Linked DNA regions of Homo sapiens: region 1 is linked to region 2. The links are contacts of gene promoters, found by promoter capture Hi-C in human tissues and cell types (Jung and others, 2019). All regions are on one chromosome and are shown on one strand. The core of a region is centred on a gene start or on the middle of the fragment in contact, and the rest is flanking DNA. Distances in the headings are between cores, read along the strand shown.

What was found. Contacts are between HindIII fragments. The study calls those that stand out against the background at their distance.
Region 1: a contact is called between a fragment that was not itself captured here and the fragment with the promoter of DOK5 in region 2, in 1 of the 25 tissues and cell types used here (H1 embryonic stem cells).

The regions. Positions count from the first base shown.
Region 1 is chr20:54,212,686-54,219,127 of GRCh38, forward strand. It overlaps PFDN4 (prefoldin subunit 4), which reads left to right. Exons shown (of 4, transcript NM_002623.4): 2 at 1,666-1,773; 3 at 2,615-2,755; 4 at 6,334-6,442. Among named protein-coding and RNA genes, the nearest start is that of PFDN4, 7.8 kb to the left of the region's middle. The HindIII fragment of the contact is 3,944 bases long and covers 1,965-5,908 here.
Region 2 is chr20:54,473,040-54,479,459 of GRCh38, forward strand. DOK5 (docking protein 5) reads left to right here and starts at 2,554. Exons shown (of 8, transcript NM_018431.5): 1 at 2,554-2,973. The coding sequence starts at 2,908. The HindIII fragment of the contact is 11,986 bases long and covers 1-6,420 here.

The sequences.
Region 1 (6,442 bases), core at 2,687-5,186, 260 kb before region 2:
CCTGTTGGGGGTTCAATATTTAAACAAAATGGCATATACTCTTCAGGCAAACAGGAACTCTTCAGAATTCTCTGCTGTCTATTTGCGTAGGGAATTGACAGTTCTCACTTAGGCAAAATGACTTGTGTGCCAAGATATAGACTTTGGTTTCTTGAGCGTAGCTCAGTGTTCCCCAACTTCCATATTCATCAAAATTATGCATACGGTTGAACACTCAAAGCTAGACATAGTGTGATGTAAAGGATTTTTTCAGGCTATCTTCTGGGTTGTTGAGGTGGGGCATAATGCATGTGAAATTGTTTCTTGGAATGAGAGCCTAACAAAGGGGAGGACTGTGTTATATTCCGACCACTGAGCTCTGTATTGCTTGACACTGCCTTTCAACCTCTGAGAAATAAAAGTTCACATACCTTAAGTCGATGGTCATGAGAGACCAGGTCAGGGATGGAGTGTGAATGTTGTGAGCTCATTACTGTTACTGCAAAAGAGCCAAAAGTAGTGTTTCAGTATGAACTATTTTTATACACACACAAATATCTTTTCTTCTTTAAACTAGAATCAGGTGCTCTGGTTTTCATTTTATAAATGGAAGGGAAACCCTAAGGAGAGTCTGGTTTTATGTTTTAGCTTTATTTTTTAAAAATATATGGTACCTCCTTGAGAATCTGATGAAAGCAGACATCCTGCTGCCTCTTCCAGATGTGCCTAAGCCTGTGTACACACTCACACACACACGTGCACACTCACAGAGACGCACGTTCACATTCAGTTACCGAGAACTCATGGACCTGTCTGACCTCTGAAGCCAGTCTGCCTGGGTTGAAATCAAGTTCCACCACCTACTGGCTCTGTGGCTTTGGCCATATTATATAAAGTGTACCTCAGTTTCTCAATCTGTAAAATAGTGCTGGTGATCCTCCCTAATAAGATGGATTGCAGGATTAGCAGAGATAATAAAGTACTTAGGAAGTTTTGGCACATAGTAAATTCAATCAGTGTTAGCTATTTTTTTATTATTTCATTGGTACTTTATGTTATCCAAGTACTCTTTATTTGCAAATTTGTAAATTTAATCACATTAAATATTAATTTTTAAATACTAAACATTCAATTTTCATCATTTTTTAGTAAAGTAGACCTTATTAAGACATTTAAACAGGTCCTACATTATAAACATAATTTTTGCTGTGAATGGAATAGAGCCACTGAAATGTACAGTGACCCTTTAGCCAGTAAGCTCATGCAAGTTTTAGCTCTAAGAAAAAAAAAACACTACTCTGAGACATTTACCAATATATTTGACCATGTAACTTTTTGTTTCCTGGGTCATCTTAATGAAAGAATGCTCCAACTTGAGAAATTCTGCTCTGTGCCAAAAGTTGGCTTTTTTTCTTTCCTTTTAAAAGGACTTATTAATTGTTCTTTATGTTTGCAATATGTTTATAGCTTAGGAATTATTTTATGGAGTATCAGAAAAGGTTATAGATTTACAAACAAACCTTAAGCTTGTGGAGCAAAAAATAAGGCATTTGTTATGTTCTGTACTTCTTGTGATTCTTGACTATATGAGTGCAAATGGCTTATTGAGTTATTGTTGAGAAATATAAAAAGCTAACTGATAACTTCTCCGTTAAAATTTTACAAAAACTTAAACACTTCTTTCAGGCTGCAGAAGATGTCAATGTTACTTTCGAAGATCAACAAAAGATAAACAAATTTGCACGGAATACAAGTAGAATCACAGAGCTGAAGGAAGAAATAGAAGTAAAAAAGGTATTGAAAATAATTATTAGAAGAATAAAATTTTTTTATACTATAGCTACTAAAACTGAACTCAGTTAACAAGTGAATATATATTTCTCTGGGCTGTTTGTTGCAGATGAATGACGCGATCCACTCTAGTTAAGCAGAAAGTCATTTTTTTTTTAAGGGATATGCGATAACTTACAGAGTTGTTGAGGAGCTTGAGTCTAGACCGAGGTTCCAGGAACAAGTCTCGGAGAACTTGGCTGGCGGTGGAACAGCTGTTGCCTCCACTGATCCCAGAGTCAGCTGTCTTCCCAATGAGGAAGCCACCCTTGCAGACTTAGGAACACCAAGCTGCTGCTGCCAGTGCCACCTACCCCAGTAAATCTGGGGCCTGTGTCCAGCCGTCCCCCTTGAGTTGAAATCCAGCTCAAATGCATTTGATTGGTGGAATTGAAGTTATTATCACTTATGCATGCTGGCAGAACTTTCATTACCCGCATGATTTACTTACACCCTATCAGCAAGCAAGGCTGAGAAATGTAGGCTGGTTTTTTTGGTTTTGTTTTTGTAGGAAGGCAGAATTCACAAAGTCAAAAATTGTTAAAATAGAAGAAATTTTGAGTGACCATGTGCCTGCTGTCCACCACAGGGCGCTTATTGTCCAGAGGACAAAGCTTTAGGTAGCTCTAAGTGCTTGCTTGTGAAATGTCTTCTAAAAAGTTACAAATTAAGGTCTTATTCTAATGTGGTAATAATACCTTTGTGAGAGGGTCCCTCAGAGAGTTGCTGTCCCCAAATTACAATTGGCCTTTAGCTTCTATCAGAGAACTTTGAGTACATTTTCTTTGCCATTTTGCATTTATAGAAACAACTCCAAAACCTAGAAGATGCTTGTGATGACATCATGCTTGCAGATGATGATTGCTTAATGATACCTTATCAAATTGGTGATGTCTTCATTAGCCATTCTCAAGAAGAAACGCAAGAAATGTTAGAAGAAGCAAAGGTATGTTAAAGGTTAATTCTGAAATTAGAATTTATATCACTATAAAGAACATGTAATTATAGATGTAGGGAAATAGTAGATGCTAGCTATAGCTAATATTTACTGCCTTGTTATGTCCCAGGCATGCTCCGAATGCTTTGCCAGCAGGATTTTGTTGAATCATAACGATGACCTGTTATCCCAATTTAGGGACAAAGAATAGAGGCTTAGAGAGGTTATGGGATTTATTCAAAGTGACACATAGACAGTGGTCTTCTGACTCCAGAACCTTGCTCAAAACTAAAAGTATTTAGAAGGTATAGCATATATTGAAGCAGAAAAGAAAAATCCCCTGTAATTCTGCTATGCAGAGGTAACCATTCATAGTGAACATTTTCCTGTATTTCTTTTATGTTCTCTCTGCCTCTCTCCGTGTAGTTTGCTTCCCAGTTGGGACAATTAATGTTCCAGGAGGAGCATTTTTGCTGGTTTCATTGAATGTTTGTTTGTCCAGCAGATACTCATTGGAAGCCTGCTCTGAGCCTGGCACACAGGCCTTTAAAAACATCGTTTTTGAAGACTGTTTAATATCATGTTGATGGTTATCAATTGGGGTCACGGGTCTTATTGTTAGCATTAATTTGTTTCCAATATTTTGCTGTACTAATGTTACTGTGAGCATTCTTCTACATAAATCTTTGTTCACATTTAGAAAATTGTTTTGAGGAAATAATTAGAGAAATATAATTACTGGGTCAGTCAGCATATGAGTTCTCTGATAATATCTGAGACATTTGATACATGGTATGAAATTTTCAGTTCACATGCCTTCTTACTATTTGGGAGGGACAGCCACGTTGTTTGTCTATGAGAAGCAGATGGCAATTAAACCTTTCCTAATGCTTTTGCTAATTAACCTGATTGCTTAAAATGATAGTCTCTCTTCAAATGTCATAAAAAGCAAAACTTCGTATGAATGAAACCCACATTTAGTAAGTCTTCAGAAGAACTATCACTCCTGGGTCTTTCCATGCATAAATCTTATATGTCTCCCTTATGTTTAAATCTTTTCTTCTTGGTCAAATTTTGTGATTTTTGTTCTTTTTATTTGTTTAACCATTTAAAAAACATTTTTATTGGAAGTATTCCCAGATAGCTTATGGTTTTTGTGGCTATTGTGAATCCCCTGCCCCATACACAGATAGCTACTGAACTTTTATTTTATTTTATTTATTTATTTATTTATTTATTTTTTGAGATGGAGTCTTGCCCTGTCGCCCAGGCTGGAGTGCAATGGCGCAATCTCGGCTCACTGCAACGTCTGCCTCCTGGGTTCAAACAATTCTCCTGCCTCAGCCTCCCGAGTAGCTGGGATTACAGGCGCCCACCACCACGCCCAGCTAATTTTTGTACTTTTGGTAGAGACAGGGTTTCACCATGTTGGGCAGACTGGTCTCGAACTCCTGACCTCGTGCTCGTGATCCACCCGCCTCAGCCTCCCAAAGTGCTGGGATTACAGGCGTGAGCCACCACACCCGGCTGAACCTTTCTTTTTTTACTCATTCTAGAATTCTAGAATGAATGGAGTGCTTACTCTGTATCAGGTTCTGCCATGTACTAGGGATAATTGGGGACAACAAAACCTGCCTGGCCCCTGCCTGCATGGAGCATATAGTCTAGATGGAAAGAAAAAAAAGTAAACAAAACTGATAATGAGTAGAAAGTGATATGAGGATAGAGGTGGCTTTAAGAACACAGGAAGAGGAATCTACACTAGTCTGGACATCAAGGGTCAGGGAAGGGCTCCCAGGGAAAGTGATGGGATAACAGCTGAGGAATAAGTGGCTATTAGCCAGAAAGGGGCGGCGGGGGGCGGGGGGTTCTAGTCGTGAGAAGCAACATGTGTGAACGGCCATAGGATGACGGTGGTGCAAACATAGACCTGCAAGAAGATGTATTTGCTGGAGATTGGGAGCACCTGAAATTGTGGCCACATCTTGGAGAACTCCAGTCAGTTGAGTTGAAGAAATTGTACTTTGTCTTAGCAGGGGTCAGCAAACTTTCTGTGAAGGGCCAGAAGTAAATACGTTAGGTTTTGTGGGCTGCACAGCCTCTGCCATAATTACTATGAAAGCAAGATGAGTGAATCTGCGTGGCTGTCTTCCAATAAAACTTGACAAAAACAAGCTTCAGGCTAGATTGGGCCTGTGGGCTATAGTTTGCCCACTCCCGTCCCAGAGCAAAGAGGAGCCTTCAGAGATTTTTGGAAAAGAGAGAGATGATTGGACTTGCGATATTAAAATGACTTTCTAGTGTCTTATTTTACTTATTAACCAGGTTTTCTCGGTATAGAAATTTAGAATTTATCCCTTTCTAGTAGCCATATGTCTTATTTTTGTTTCTTGTTTTGTAACAGTGATTCTCAAACTTAGCATGCGTGAGAATCACAGTCACCACAGGGCTTGTTAAAAATCCAGGTTGCTGGGCCCGACCCAAAGACGATCTTTCAGGTGGGCTGAGGTAGGGCCCCAGAATGTGTATTTCTAACAAGTTCCCAGGTGATTTTGTCCCTGACACTGGTCTCGGGGCCACCGTTTGAGAACCATTGGCTAGATTTCTAAAACGGCAACACTGTCAGTATTAGATATTCTTTGGTTTCTAATGTTAGTGGGTATTTGGTTTGTGTGATTTCATATTTTTTTGTCATGTTTAGGAAAAAAAATTGTTTTGATCCTAGCCAGGAAGGAACTTAATGGCTTTTTTTTTTTTTTTTAAAACAAAGAGTATATGTTAAAATTTATTTAATCTATTAATGAGGGAAGCATTAACATTACAAAACTGGTTTTAGAATTGAAGAGGCTAAGTATCTATAGATAGGTAGGTAGAAAGAATTGTCCTTTGGAATTGTATTTTCTTTTTTTTAATTATAAATTGACAATTTATAATTGTATAAATTTATGGTGTAAAACGGGATGTTATAATTTATTAATACAATATGGAATAATTAAATCAAGATAGTTAACATGTCTATCACCTCAAATACTTAGAAAATATCTGAGTTTTCACTGGGCAAAGCTGCTCTTTCTTACAAATGAGGCACTTTTTACCACTCTTTTCCAAAGTTTAGCTCCAGAGGCCTCAAAGTTAGTGAAAATTTCTGCCAGATTTGGATCATAAGTTGTTCTTCTTAATTATTGGTGGTTGGTGGTGTGAGTTTCTATCATTTCCTGTAGTCTCATAGTTATTTTTGTTGTTGGAAAAAGCTGGGTTAGAAGCCAGCAGGCCCAGGATAAACTATTTATAGAAGTCTTTGTATTTGGTTCTTTGTTAGGAAATAATTTAGACAGTAATTTTTTACTATTTTTTAGATCAGCAGAAACTGAGAAAACAAACTTGATTTATTCTGTGATAAGCAGATATGGACCATGAATTAAAAATGCCCACATTCAGACATTTAGATCTAATTATCAGTGTTACTTAGCTGCCTGTCCAAGTTTAGAAGGTTCTTGACCTAAAATTCTTCCCAAATATTATTTCAGACACAGATGCTCAGAAATCATCCTATTGAATAGAATTAATTTAAAATATTTTTTTTCCAGAAAAATTTGCAAGAAGAAATTGACGCCTTAGAATCCAGAGTGGAATCAATTCAGCGAGTGTTAGCAGATTTGAAAGTTCAGTTGTATGCAAAATTCGGGAGCAACATAA
Region 2 (6,420 bases), core at 1,304-3,803:
ATAGTATTTTTTCTTGTCAGACATTTCCAGTAAAACTAAATCATGTGTGATAGTATATTTGTTCGGCAGCATATGGTTAGGCAAGTTGTGCACTGTAGAACTCTATAAGCACCCCTTACATTGCCTACCTCTGTGAATGGTTCTTTTCCATTTCTTTTTCTTTTTTTAATGTTTTTTTTTTTTTTTTTTTTTTTTGAGACAGAGTTTCGATCTTGTTGCCCAGGCTGAAGTGCAATGGTGCAATCTTGGCTCACCTCCACCTCCCAGGTTCAAGTGATTCTCCTGCTTCAGCCTTCCAGGTAGCTGGGATTACAGGCACGCACCACCACACATAGCTAATTTTGTATTTTTGGTAGAAACGGGGTTTCTCCATGTTGGTCAGGCTGGTCTCGAACTCCCAACCTCAGGTGATCCACCCACCTCGGCCTCCCAAAAAATTACAGGGATTACAGGCGTAAGCCACTGTGCCCAGTCTCTTTGCTCTTGCTGCCAGGGCTTGTATTGCACAATTTGGACAAGTGTAAATGTCCTATGAATAGTATATCACAGTCTGTACGTTTTGCATGTATGTCAATTGGATTTCACCAAACAAAACCATATATTGGATTCAGTCTTGCAATTTAAAAAAGAAATCATTTGTTCCTTCACGTCTAGTTTGATATTTTCTGGTTTGATTCTAGTTTCCTCAGCTCCAGTTAAATTATCTATGGATGTTGATTATAGTCAGCATTAACTATCAAGGGATGGATTTCTCGCCTTCAGTTTTTGTCAGTAATTATTTCCGTTATTGTGGGCCCTTCATTTCAAGCTCCTTATGCCTTAATTTCTTCATTTTTTGTTTCTATAATACTGTGGACTTGGTCTATAAATGATGTGTTAGATAAATGCCTTCCATGAACACCTCTATTTTACAGCAACCATGGGCAGCATTTTTTTTTTTAAGTTCCAATCCTTCAAAAGGAGCTCTCCAAATGATTTTACCATTTCATCTCTTTTGGTGAGAGATTTAAAATTAAAACATCATTTTCCATAGAATGGCAACATGAAGACAGATGGTTTACTATGTAGCAAAAATAGTTCTCCCTGCCAGAATATCTCCTTTTTGATTGTCCCCATTTAGTCTCGGTTCTCCTATGACACATTCTTGGAGGTTTCTGTTCTTTAACTGAAACTCATCAAGCCAAGGTGACTAAAAGCTAATGTTCCCAGTGAGAATGGGAAGATTCATATCGTCTTAGAGTTGAAAGACCTGTGGATGTCATCAGGTCAAACAATCCACTACTAACTGAATCCTCTTCTCAATGGCTCTGAGCAGTGATCTCTAGCTTTAGCTTTGTCGCTTCCCAGTGAGTAAGAATTTTTGTCTAATTTCTGATGATTATCTTTGCCTTTGTGAATAGTGCAAATGATTAGAAAGATCTTCCTTGGAAATCAACTAGTAACCTCTCTTTCTGTGAGATCCTCTCTTCAGAAGAGGAATAGGAGAATGTTTAGGAGCAGAGCTGGGCACTACACACACCTCCCTTCAATCCTAGCTCTGATAGTGGCCAGCTGTGAGACCTTAGCAAGTCTGTAAAATGTGGATGCTGGTGCCTAATTCATTATTCCCTTAACAAGATTAGCACAATGCCCAGCACACTGGTGCTCAATGTGTGTTAGCAATTATCAATCAAGTATGCTTTAGGGAGGTAATGCAGTCAGGGGCAGGTGAGTGTGAAATTCAGTCCCCTTCTTCATCTTATTGTATAGGCAGTATCTCATAATGGCAATGAGAGCTCTATTGCCAGGCTAAGGAGGCTTAATTAAATATGGGCCTGGTGTATACATTAACAGGGCACCTACCTCAAAAAGTGCAGGGGAGTTTGAATGAGTCAATCCATGCAAAAGGCTTGGAGAGTGCCTGGCACCTAGGTGGCCATCTTGATAACCACAAGGATTTACTGAGCACTTGCTCTGGGGTCAGGCTTTGGGGACAGACAGTGATGAGGCCAAGTCTCAGCCCCCTGGGAAACACATTCCGGCGGGAAAGAGGCTGAAACAGGGAAACTGTGGCAAATGATACCAGCGAGGGCTAGGTCCCTGACACAAGGAAACCCAAGGAAGCATTTGGCTTAAGCGGTGACAATATCCCTCTCCTCAGATGCCAAGGTCAAGGCGAGCCGCGGCAACACCATCTCCCCAGACACACACGCAAAATCGGCCCTTCTCGGGGAAAGGGCAGGGGCTGAAGGGGGAGGCGGGGTGGGCGGCGGCTGGAAAAAAGTGAAATTTCCTCTCCTCCTAAAATAAGTCATTGGAGCGAGGAGAGCGAGCGCTATCTCAGTAGGCTGTGGGCGAGGTGCGGGGGTGGCGGGGGCACGCTCCGGGTCCGCCAGGAGGGGAGGGATCGGAAGGGGAAGCGGGGAGGGAAAGGTGGGTGGGAGGCGCGGGGAGCGTTCCAGGGCGGCTGCTCACGGGTGGCCGCAGCCCAGTGCTGGGACTCGCGCGGCTCCTCCTCTTAGCCCCCCACCCCTTCCTCCTCTTTCCTCCTCCTCCTTCCTCCTCCTCCTCCTCCTTCTTCTCCTCCTTCTCGGCCGGGAGGAGGCAGGGCTGGATCCCTCAGCCGCCGCCGCTCCTCCTCCTGGCAGGCCGGCCGCGGAGTCAGCTGACGCCGGCGCTCCAGCCTCGCCTCCCCGCGCCGCGCTCTGCGCTCCCCGAAAGTGGCTGCAAGCCGGCCGCCCACTGTCAGGGTTGGGGGGACAGAGAAAGTGATGTGCGCCTTCTAAAGCCTCGCCCAGCGCCGCCGAAGCAGCTTCACCTCTCCAACTTTCTCCCACCGACTGCTTGTCTTGACCCTGCCCTCCACCCTCCCCAGAGCCACTTCGGGTGCGCGCTCTTGGGTAAAGGGGGGGTCACCGGCTGTCTGGGATGGCTTCCAATTTTAATGACATAGTGAAGCAAGGGTACGTGAGGATCCGGAGCAGACGCCTCGGGGTGAGTATCGATCCTCTCCGTGTTGCTGTTCGCCGGTTCGATTGTCTCTCTCTTGAGCCAGCATCCCTGGAGGGTGGACGGAGAGTCCCCGGCCGCGCGCCGGAGAATTGCGCGGTGGCTTTCTCAGCCGAAACCCGCGTCTCCGGGGCTGTCACTGTAAGGCCAGCGTCTAGGTATGTAATGGATCTATCTTTATCTCTTGGATGACTTGGCTTTCTGATGGTGGCCGCGTGTTGGGCTTCAGTAGCCCCTGGAGCCCATCTACTCGAAATAAATATTTCTCGGTAGCCATGGAAGTTGGAGCTGAGAAGCCCGGGCGGGGGTGCCTGCCGGATGCCCCCGGTTCCCCTCTTTTCCCACTCGCCGCCAACTTAACTTTTCCGGGGGATGGATCGGCTGGTTGAGAAAGAGGACACGCATACTCGGTGTGAACGAGGTCACGAACCCTCTGACCCCAGGGAGAGATTTCTGCCAAGCGTAAGGTGTCTTTGGATCCCCCCACCTCTGTCCCAGGTGTCGTGTCAAAGGCGGTGCGGGCTGGCCTCTGGTCGGGGCCAACTTGGGTAGATACTTGAATCTGGATTTTCCGTGGTTCGAAGCCGGGGTGGTGGATTTCTGTTGCTGGAATACACCCTGGAGGTCCACGGAAGGGTTATTTACGTGGAACCTGATACCTGGCATAGCGCAAGTGCTCCCTACATATGTCCTGAAAGGAAGAATGAATGAATCTTAGGGCACTTGGGACAGATGTTGACACAGGCTAGCTCCTTCCTTAAAACTCCCTCTCTTTCGCCCCTTTCTCTCTTGGCTCTTCGCTGGAGGAGGCTTCAAAAGAGAACCTACCCTTCCTCTCCTTGGGACTGAATGATGGTGGAAGAATTCTTGAGGGAGAGGGAAGATACTGGAACGATTTTTTTATTTCCTAAAAATTTCAAACTAGGTCCCTCATTTCTCTTTGCCTCCTATCAAGTGTTGTCGCTGTTTTAGTTGATCCTGTGCGTTTGGACATAAGGGGTGAAAAGTGGGGGTGGAGAGGTGGCGGGGGCGGGGGGAGAAAATATCCTTTGGTGTAATGCCTGAAATAAGTATAATGTCAGTAATCGTGTGGAATGCCGCCATTGATAATGAGTGGTAAATTGAATAGCTTTCTTTAGAAATATGTGTCATTTGGCATCTTTCTCTTACTTGGTCTTTGGACTGTTTTAATGTGCCAGATACTTTTACTGAAAACTGAAAAGAAATTTCACAGTAGTAAACTCAGCTAGGGAGGGAAGCCCTGTGGGGAGGAACATCCGCAATTATTATAAAACTCTTGCCTAATTCGTTTTGGTCTTTTTCTTTTCTTTTTCTCCCCTGCTGGTGACCATGTTTTAGCGATTATGTCCTGTGTTATTGTGAATATATACATATGTAATTAGGGAGAAATGTAACAGAATTCACCATTTCCATCAGCTCTGCCAAAGTTTCCTTGGTTTTCTTTTCTGCTATGCAAATATTCTCATCTTCAAGAGCACCCATTGTTGGGGGTACTTTACTGAGTGACTCCCATGTAAGGGGCAAACAATAATGGGAACTTTCTATTTTTGGTATGCTTATAGGCTGGCCAAGTGTTACAATTTTAAGGGGAGTTAAGTTAAAAAAAAAAAAAACCCAGCATTCTAATTTAGCTTTACTCCATCATGTCAATGGAAGGAATTGGTATGAGACATCCATTCTGTGTTAGGGAGCATTCCAATGGGAAGAGGACATGCATTATTAATGCACAAAATATGAATTATTCATAAGGATCAGAGTTTATGCCAAATTGTGACACATGGTAATTTATTTGAAAAACTGGTTACCATCACTTTCTTGTTTGTGGTAACTGAGATTATTTTTTCTAGATTATTACAATTGACACAACATAGCCCTATGTGTGTGCCAACATTTATGGACAGATATTTGAAGCAGAAGGAACAGAAATATTTAGTTTGTATTTGTTTTATGTTTTACAGCATTTTGGATGCTAATGAGCAGTATACTTTCTCAAGATTTATTCTTTTTGTCTGTGTTCACGTTCAGACTTCAGAATATCTATTGAATTATGGTTATTGCTCATGGAGAGAAAAGGTCAAAAATATGATCAAGTAAATCTGGTCTTATTTGTTAGCATTGGTTTTCTCACCAGTTAATTTTTAAAATATTCTTATGGTATGATTTACAAAAGAGGCTGATTACATAGTTGCCAGAACACAGTGCAAACCAAAGTTTTAATGGAGGCTGCAAATATTGGTGAAGGATGCTGTACGGAATTGGCATGGGGACCCTATGTCCACAGTAAGGAATGTTAGCGGTATTAATCTAGGCTACATATAGTCTAGAACAGCATGCGACATGTATCTTCTAGGAATATGTGCCAGTCTCAAAGAGAGGTAGGGCATTTATTTTGTCTAGCACAGAGTAGACACTTGGTAAGTTCATGTTGAAATATGTGCTGAACTATATAGTGCATGGATGGTCTTGCCATTTATAACCTTTAGGAACTAATACAACAGCATTTATTAATGGAATCCAGACCATGTTTGGGACGGTTTATAATTAAATACAAAAACATTTCATGGTAAGCAGCTGTTCCTGGTGCCAAGGAATAAATGCTTCTTCAGATTTGGAGAAAGAGGAGAAGGGAACGCATTCTGCTTCTATTGCTTGTTGACCTTTGACCTTTCTTGGCCTCAGTTTCCTAGTCTGTACAATGAACACTATTTAATGTTCTTGGGAGCATTAAAGAAGATATTTGTGAAAATGCAATGAAAGTCTAGAACATTGATTCTGCTTGTATCATTTTCTTTAATCAAAGATGAGTTAGGATTGGTAGACGGATATAGGAATTATCTATTTCCTTCTCTTTCTATGTAGAAGTGTACAAAGGCATAAATGTTTATGCAGCTCCAGATTTTTTCAATGGATGAAACTTTTACAAATTATATACATATATGTGTATGTGTGTGTATTTTTATACATAGGAATAAATATATACATACAACCTATGTACATATTGTATAATATATAATATACGTATATTTATATATGTGATTTTTTAACAGGACAGGAAACATTCTAAAAACATTCCCATTCAAATGGGTCACAGATAAGTGGTCACCTTCATTTGAAATCCTAAAGAGTTTAAATGATTAAGCAATCAAATATGTATAGATTTATTCTCTTCTTTAGACATCAAAAAGCTTAATGAAATATAATTCATTTAACTCAAAAGTTTCAGTATCTTCACATCTGTATTCCCCAGCTTAATCCCCATTGTTTCCTGGAGGTCTCCAGCTGTGCCCTGGGTACTGAATTTGTTCAGGAATGTCGACGTTACTATTTGAGGGGCTGGGGGAAGGAGGGGAGCAGCTGTCCATAATTATTTGAGTAATCGATTAAATGCACTAAAAATTTCTTTTTAGGGGA